3 separate regions of the Homo sapiens genome follow, and regions 2 and 3 are each linked to region 1. Evidence: promoter capture Hi-C in 16 types of primary human blood cells and fetal thymus (Javierre and others, 2016). All regions are on one chromosome and are shown on one strand. Each heading gives the region's core, a stretch centred on a gene start or on the middle of the fragment in contact. The rest is flanking DNA. Distances are from core to core; before and after follow the strand shown.

Evidence for each region. The method cuts DNA at HindIII sites, captures the fragments that hold promoters and counts their contacts. A CHiCAGO score of 5 or more calls a contact.
Region 2: a contact is called between a fragment that was not itself captured here and the fragment with the promoter of HTR1A in region 1, in 1 of 17 cell types (endothelial precursors). The highest score is 7.8, in endothelial precursors.
Region 3: a fragment that was not itself captured here is called in contact with the fragment with the promoter of HTR1A in region 1 in 1 of 17 cell types (endothelial precursors); the score reaches 5.1 in endothelial precursors.

Annotation. Positions count from the first base shown.
Region 1 is chr5:63,961,132-63,963,796 of GRCh38, forward strand. HTR1A (5-hydroxytryptamine receptor 1A) reads right to left here and starts at 1,314. Exons shown (of 1, transcript NM_000524.4): 1 at 1-1,314. The coding sequence starts at 588. RefSeq lists an enhancer at 51-1,028. The HindIII fragment of the contact is 6,748 bases long and covers 1-2,665 here.
Region 2 is chr5:63,124,230-63,126,894 of GRCh38, forward strand. No RefSeq gene overlaps it. Among named protein-coding and RNA genes, the nearest start is that of LRRC70, 550 kb to the left of the region's middle. RefSeq lists an enhancer at 1,002-1,552. The HindIII fragment of the contact is 2,352 bases long and covers 181-2,532 here.
Region 3 is chr5:63,410,639-63,413,303 of GRCh38, forward strand. No RefSeq gene overlaps it. Among named protein-coding and RNA genes, the nearest start is that of HTR1A, 550 kb to the right of the region's middle. The HindIII fragment of the contact is 3,127 bases long and covers 1-2,665 here.

The DNA of each region.
Region 1 (2,665 bases), core at 64-2,563:
AGTGTAGCCATGATCCTTGCTAATGGTGCATGCGTCGGGGTCCGAGCGGTCTTCCGGGGTGCGCCAGCCCAGCATGGGCGGGATAGAGATGAGGAAGCCAATAAGCCAAGTGAGCGAGATGAGCGCAGCGGCGCGCCGGGGCGTCCTCTTGTTCACGTAGTCGATGGGGTCCGTGATGGCCCAGTACCTGTCCAGCGCGATGGCGCACAGGTGCAAGATGGATGAGGTGCAGCACAGCACGTCGAGGGCGATGAACAGGTCGCAGGTTACCTGGCCCAGTGTCCACTTGTTGAGCACCTGATACAGCGCGGCCATGGGCAGCACCAACACCGACACCATGAGGTCGGTGACCGCCAAAGAGCCAATAAGATAATTGGCCACGTTCTGCAGGGAGCGCTCCAAGGCGATGGCAGCCACCACGCACGCATTGCCCAGCACCGCGCAGAAGATGAGCGTGCCCAGCAGCAGAGAGGTGATCACTTGGTAGCTGACGGTCACGTCGGAGATACCAGTAGTGTTGCCGCCGGTCTCAAAGGGAGCCGGTGGTGATGTGGTGTTGTTGCCCTGACCAGGGCTGAGCACATCCATGCCTGCGCGCCCGGCGCGGGAAGGGGGAGGGAAGAAAAAGCAGCGCGAAGATTCGCCTCGCCCCTTCCCCTGGGGTCTTCCGCCCTTCTCCTGGGAAGTTTCGGAGGAAGGGAATGCAGAGACCCAAGCAGGAAGTTCTTACTGCTTCGGCGAAGGGTATCTCCGAGGAGCAGCTTTCAGGCGCTCCCTGGGCTCTCGCAGTCCAGCGCGTTCAGAAGCTCCAGCTGGGAAACTGGAGTTGGCCTGAAAGCAGCTCCAGGATCTCCCGGCGGCGGAGAGGTGGCTGGAACGTCTGTCTGTCGCTGTCCATTTTACTTTGCCGCTCCCGAACTGGCTGCCGGAGCTGGAGTCTCCCCACTAGCAAACAGTCTCCAATCCCAGAAATATCTAGAACCGAGAAGCCCCATCCTCCACGGTCACTCTGTGACCCTCCTCTCCCTATTTCCTTCCTTCCCTCTCTCCCCCTCTCTCCTCCTCTCTTCTCTCTCTTCTGCCTCTTTCGTCCCCCTTCTCCCCACCTGCCTTCCCTTTCAGTCTCCCTCTTCCTCCTCACTTCCCTTTATTTATCCCTCTGTGAGTCGCTTCGAAAGCCAGGCTCCTTCCCTCCCACTCTAACCCTCCCCTCCTAATACTTCCCCAACCCCGAGGAGTGCCTCTTTCCTCTGGGTCCCCGCCCTCCTCTCCCTCTAGCTCAGCGTCTTTGCATTCGAGTCTCTTTTTGTCAACAGAGACTCAGAACTCACTTACACACACCAGATCCCTGCCGGTCAGACCAAGGTTGTAACAAATAAACTCCGCCTCCAACCCAGCAAAACTGGGGTTGGAAAAACTTGGGGGAGGGAATTCCAACTACTCCTTGCCTCATATTATCTGCCAAATTCTTAAATCGTGTCAGCATCCCAGAGTGGCAATAGGAGATGAGAAAAGGAAGCATAGGGAGCCTGAATGGGAAGGTGAACAGTCCTGGGTCAGTCTCCCAATTATTGCTAATTGATGGAAGAAGACCGAGTGTGTCTTCCTTTTTAAAAAGCTACCTCCGTTCTCGCGCCATTGCACTCCAGCCTGGGCGACAGAGCGAGACTCCGTCTCCAAAAACAAACGAACAACGACGACAACAACAACAAAACGGTACCTCCGTTATCATCTAACAGTCCAGCCTTACTCCCTCAGGGAGAATATTGCCTGTGACTTTTTTTTTAACGTTGGGGAACCGGGAGAGAACGAAATTATAAAGGACGTGTCAAAGGACAAGGAGAGGTAAACAACTGCATCTCGAAATGAAGAACAAAACTCAGTGTGATATATATTCTAAACACACACACACTTTTCCATCACTACTACACTTGTAATTTCAGTGACACTGCCACTTCCCATAGCTTTGTGGCTAGTAAATTCAGGGATGGAAATATTTTGCATATGTGTTCTAAGTGAAGCCTGGCATTTCACATGGCCTTTTGCACTTCTTACCAGAGCCTGCAAACCTCTGGGGGAAACTTGGTGGAATCCCGGTTCGCTAGCCGGCTAGCCTCTCTTAATCTCAGAAACTGGGTTCAGCACCTGGGACAGTTCTAAGCAATGAGGTTTTATGTCGCCACCTTCTGGCAAATGTTTTAGAGTGCCATCTGGAAACCCTTATGCAGAAATGAAGCAAGTATTGAGGAAATACAACAACTTTTAGAAAGAGGAAGACAGTTATTAAAAGACAAGGTAGTATTGAGTTTTGTCTCCTTCCTATTTTCTTTAAAAATTTATTTTAGTGCCCTCTTTTGCTCTGAACCTTATATATCAGGCCTATTATATGTTTTAGCTTCCTTCGAAAGCCTGAAGTATCTGTCATTCACAAGTTCTAACTGGGAATGCCATTTTAATAAAGCTAGGCTAACACTTTCACCTGTGTTGGTTTTGTGCTGTCATAACCTGAACTTTGGAACTGACATAAATTTACCTTTTGTTGGAGAAACGAATAGTATTGCATTTTCCAAATGATTTAACATTTGGAAATGTTAAATCACTGAAAATAAAGATACTTACAAGGGTTTGTTCTAAGCTGTTTCCTTTAACAAGAAAAACAAATTTA
Region 2 (2,665 bases), core at 107-2,606, 840 kb before region 1:
GAGTTCATTAAATTGGGCCCTAATACAATATAACTGATCCTTATAAGAAGAAATTTGGGTACAGACACATACATACAAAGGAAATAAAATGTAAAAACATAAGAGGGACACCAAATACAAACTGAGCCTTCTTAATGAAATAATGGAAGAATGCTCCTGCAGCTAAGTGTGGGCAGAATAAGCTTATTACAGTCAGTGTTGGAGTCAGCAGCTGTTTTGTATCTGTTCTCATGAATGTTTCATAAGCAAAAAAGAGTTGCATCAAATTTTTGATGAACAACCTTTTTACTGTTATAATAAAATAATCACGTCATTAATAAAACCAATAATTTATCTCAAGCCTGTTTTACTTTGGTAAATATTTAGCTTGTACAGTTGTACAGCACATATATTGCATGCTGACATATATTTTGAAATCAATACCAGAAATTGTCTGAAGAATGGGGGGTATTTGGTAGTATTTTGAGAATAAATAATGGTGTGCTACAACCTACTTGCATTGCCAGGAGGCAATTGTGTTCATCTTTTCCTAGCTCCATGATCACGTTAGTATCTTGAAATTGGTTAAGGTGGGAAAATTTACACTATGGCAATTGGCAAATAACAAAAATTCAAACCATTTTTTGGGAGCTGGTTGTTAGACATTCACCAGAACACCTTCAGAAATAAACTGTATTTGTAAACAAATTAATGTACTCTGGTGTTGCGGGCATTTACAAGAAAATCTGTCTTTCCTGATGAAGAAAAATAGCTGATTCTTGTTACCAGGCTTTAGACTAATTTGTGAAGATAAATTTTAGAGCCAGTTTAGAAAACAGATGAAATGAATTTGAGCTGCAATTTAGTAATGGCTTCTAAAGCTGTTGAGCAAATTGCTGAAGTAATTTTGGTATGTGAAACATATTCACTAAGGAGAGTGAAAATTCAAACTCCTTGCCTCCCTGACAGAAGGATGATTAATAGCAGAACTAGAAGGATCAGCATTTTCATGGAAAACTCTAGAAATCAGAGAGTTCCAAAGCTGTCATTAGTTTAGTTTTAAGGTTTTATAAGGAAAAAAACCAATGGCGAATTAAACATTTGTTAATTCAACCTGTATTATTTTATGAGTAGCTGTGTTATATGTACTTAAGTGAAGACAAGTGAGCTTAGAACTTAGAACCTAGAGTGTTTCATGTATGGTGCCTTCTTTCTGTTGATTTGCATTTCCACCCCTGGGAAATGCTAAAGAGGACTAAGGACACCATTGAAATGTCACTCTTTCTGAATGAGGGAGATGGCAGTGCTTCTCAAACTTTAATGTGTTTACAGAACCCCTGGGGAGACTTCCTGAAACTTAGATTCTCATGAAGTCTGGGGTTGGGGGGCTGGGTGGCACCTCTGCTGATGAGCAGTTGGTAGACCACTCCCTGAGGAAGGAGCTAGAATCCTTCTGAGGTGCAAGTGTGGAGATGCTCCTCAGCCAGTGTGATCCTCCCTCTCCCCAACCTTCCCCTCAGCAACAACCAGCAACATGTGATTTAAAAGTTTCCCTACTTTTATTCTTTTATACTTCCTTTCAGTTTAGATTTCTTTAGTGGTTGGGGGTAACAGTATTCTCCCTTAAAAATTCCTATGTGGGTCATTTCTTCTTAACACTTAAAACCGTTTCTCTCTCTCTCTGTCTCTCTCTCTCTCTCACTCTGTCTCTCTGTCTGTCTCTGTCTAGCTTGAGACTTACTGGGATTTCTGTAATTCTGCACTGCTTCCAGTAGAGGTCATTGCCTTGTTATAGAAATATTTCCTTTGTAAGAGATAGATCAATGGCTGGGATGACTGCATTTTGTGGGGGAGTCAGTGAGTCAGCCCGAGGGACTAGTTATCTCCAAGGCCACTGGTTTGCCCATAATAGCACCTCCATTTAAAAGTTGGAGACCCTCCACCTTCTTGTTAGTTAATCTAAATACAAAAAATTGGCAGACTTTTCCAATTACCTGGAACAAATGAAGGAAAAACCTACTGAAGCATGGCCAAAGTGCTCAGATGCTTTAGTGCGGTATGTTAATTTGCTAGGGCTGCTGTAATAAGGTAGTACAGACTGGGGAGCTTAAACAACTGAAATGTATTTGTTCACAGTTCTGGAGAATAGAAGTCCCAGGTTAAGGCATCAGCAGGGCTGGTTCCTTCTGAGGGCCATGAGGGAAAGATGCAGGCCTGTTCCTGTCCTCTCTTTTTGGCTTATAAATGGGTGTTTTCACATTGTCTTTCACTGGTATGAGTGTGTCTGTGCCCATATTTCCTTTTCTTAGAAGGATCAGTTATACTGGATTAAGGTCCAATTTAATCAACTCGTGTTAATTTAATTACCTCTTTAAAGTATCTATCTCCAAATGCAAGTACATTTTGAGGTTTTAGGGGTTAGAACTTCAACAAATGAATTTTTTGGTGGGAGACACAATTCCATAAATAAGCAAACTGTCCTAAGAGAAGAGGACTTCTTGGATGCACATAGCTTTGTCTACAGCTATAATTCACTTGTAAAATTTAAGTCAAAGCTTTACCTTTTCCTTCCATAAACTGAGTACATCTGGAAAAACGGAAGTAAAATAAAAATCAGCTTGCTTTACTTATCTTAAGTAATTGTTCATTTTCTTGTAGGTACTTCATATTGAAGGCTGGTCTAGGA
Region 3 (2,665 bases), core at 64-2,563, 550 kb before region 1:
AGTTGTTTCTAGTACATTCACAAGTTGTGCAACCATTACTACCAATTCCAGAACATTTTCATCAACCAAGAAATAAACATTAGCACTTACTCTCCCTTCCTCCCCTCTCCCAGTTCCTGACAATCACAAATCTGCCTCTATGGATTTGCCTATTCTGTGGACATTTCATATGAATGGGATCATACAGTATATAACTTTTGTGATTGGATTATTTCACTTACAATAATGTTTTCAAGGTTCATCCATGTAGCAGCATGCACCAGCACTTTATTCATTTTTATGACTGAATAATATTGCAGTGTTTGGATATTACACATATTTTTATTCATTAGGTGATGGACATGTGGATACTTTCTAGTTTTTGGCTCCTATAAATAATGCTGCCATAAATACTGTGTACAAGTTTTTGTATGAATATATGTCTCTATTGAATATATACCAAGGAATGTGATGTTTGGTCTTTATGCTTACTATTTTTAGGACCTGCTAAATAGTTTCCTAAAGCAGCTTTACCATTTTGTAAACTTACCAGCAATGTATAAGGGTTCCAACTCCCTCACATCCTCACCAACATTTGTTGTCTGTCTTGTCCATTTTAGTTATCTTAGTGTGTGTGAAGTGGTATTTCATTGCGGTTTTAAAATTGCACTTGCCTAATAACTAATGTTGAATATCTTTTCATGCTCCTATTGTATACATTCTTTGCAGAAAGGTCCACTAAAATCCTTTGCCCAGTAAAATTTTTTTTTGTTTTAATCACTGAGTTTTAAACTTCTTTTATATGGTGGTTGAAGTGCATTTCTTTTGAGAATAACTGACATCTCTTATTTTTCACAGTAGCTCTCAAAGTGTAGTCCGAGAGCCGCTGGTGGACCCTGAGACTCTTTCAGGAGGTCTAACGGCATCAAAATTATTTCCACTCCACCACGTGTACACTGAATTTTCCAGCTACTACATGTCTGACAGTATAACAGATTAAATATAGAGGCAGACATGAGAATCCAGCTGAATTTACCTAAGCTAGACATTAAAAAGATTTGCAAAAATGTAAAACAATGTCACTTTTCTCACGAATACAAATAATTTTTTGTTTTTGAAAATATTGTCACTTTTCATAAAAATATGTTATGGGTAATGTAATAGGTTTGTCGTTGTTATTTGACATGAATTAATGCATTTTTAAAAAATTTGCCACAGACAGGTGTGATGCTTGGCATGTAGTAGACACTCAATAAAAGCCAATTTTTCCTTTTATAATGCAGCACCATTCAATATTAGAGGAAGACTGTAGATGAATTTATTCACCTGTGCCATATTTTTCATTGCTGCACATAATAAGAAGAACTACACAGAAGAGTGAAAGAATTCAAAAGGTGATATGTGAGAACTTAAAGGAGAACATAATATTTTCCATCCAATGTTTATGTTTCTGACATATAGCTTGAGTAAACCTGGCATTCCTACGTCATGCCCTTGAGTTTCCCACATGCTACCACCAATCAGGTAGAACCAGTTGCTTCCAGGCATTTCTAATAGTGTAATAATTATGAACACGAGCTATGGAATCAAATGATGTGTATACTTCCTTTTAGTGATGCCCTCTTACTAACTACATGAACTTGAAATGGTTACCCAACATTTCTGAGAGATGGTATGTATATCTGTATTGTGATAGTGGTTAAGAGCATGGTTTCTGGAGCTAGACTGCTGGGGTTTTAATCCTAGATCTGCCAATTACTATGTAATCTTAATACATGTTATTTAATGTATTTTTAATTCATCATCTGTAAAAATGAGAATAATAACAGTCCATCCTCATAGTGTTGTTGTGAGATTTTTATATACATAATATATAAAATATATATTATACATTATATATTACATGTAAATTATATAATATATTAGATATATAAAATATACATTATATATTCTATATGTAACATATGGAATATAAGACTAAATTCTAACAATAGATCATCTTTGAAGATTTATTTTTTCCAAGACAGTCTTACTCTACTACCCAGGCTGAAGTGCAGTGGTTCGATTTCCACTCACTGAAACCTCTGCCTCCCAAGTTCAAGTGATTCTCATGTCTCAGCCTCCCTAGTAGCTGGGAATACAGGAGCATACCACCAAGACTGGCTAATTTTTTTTTTTTTTTTGTATTTTTACTAGAGATACGGTTTTGCCATGTTGGGCAACCTGGTCTCAAACCCCTGGCCTCAAGTGATCCACCTGCCTCAGCCTCTCAAAGTGCTGGGATTACAGATGTGAGCTACCACACCTGGCTAACAATATTCAAGTATTTGAATCTTAGAATATTAGAATAATGCCTGGCATAAAATAAGTGTTCTGATAGTGTTTGCCACATTATCATTTATTTCTAAATTTTCTCATCTCTGTAATGAGGATAACAATAGTCCCTACTTCATGGGATTGTTAAAAATATACAAAAATACATTTAATGTGCTAGAGTATCAGGCACAGAGTAAACTCCTGAGAAAATATTAGGTATTATTATTGTTACTGTTAGACAGTTGGCTAGTTAAGGGACCATAAAATCATTAATCTATGATTGTAGTTCAAAAGGATAATTATTCTCAGTTAAATAATTGTATTCTAGAATTTTCATACTAGAAGGAGCCTTGGAATTCTTCTTGCAAAG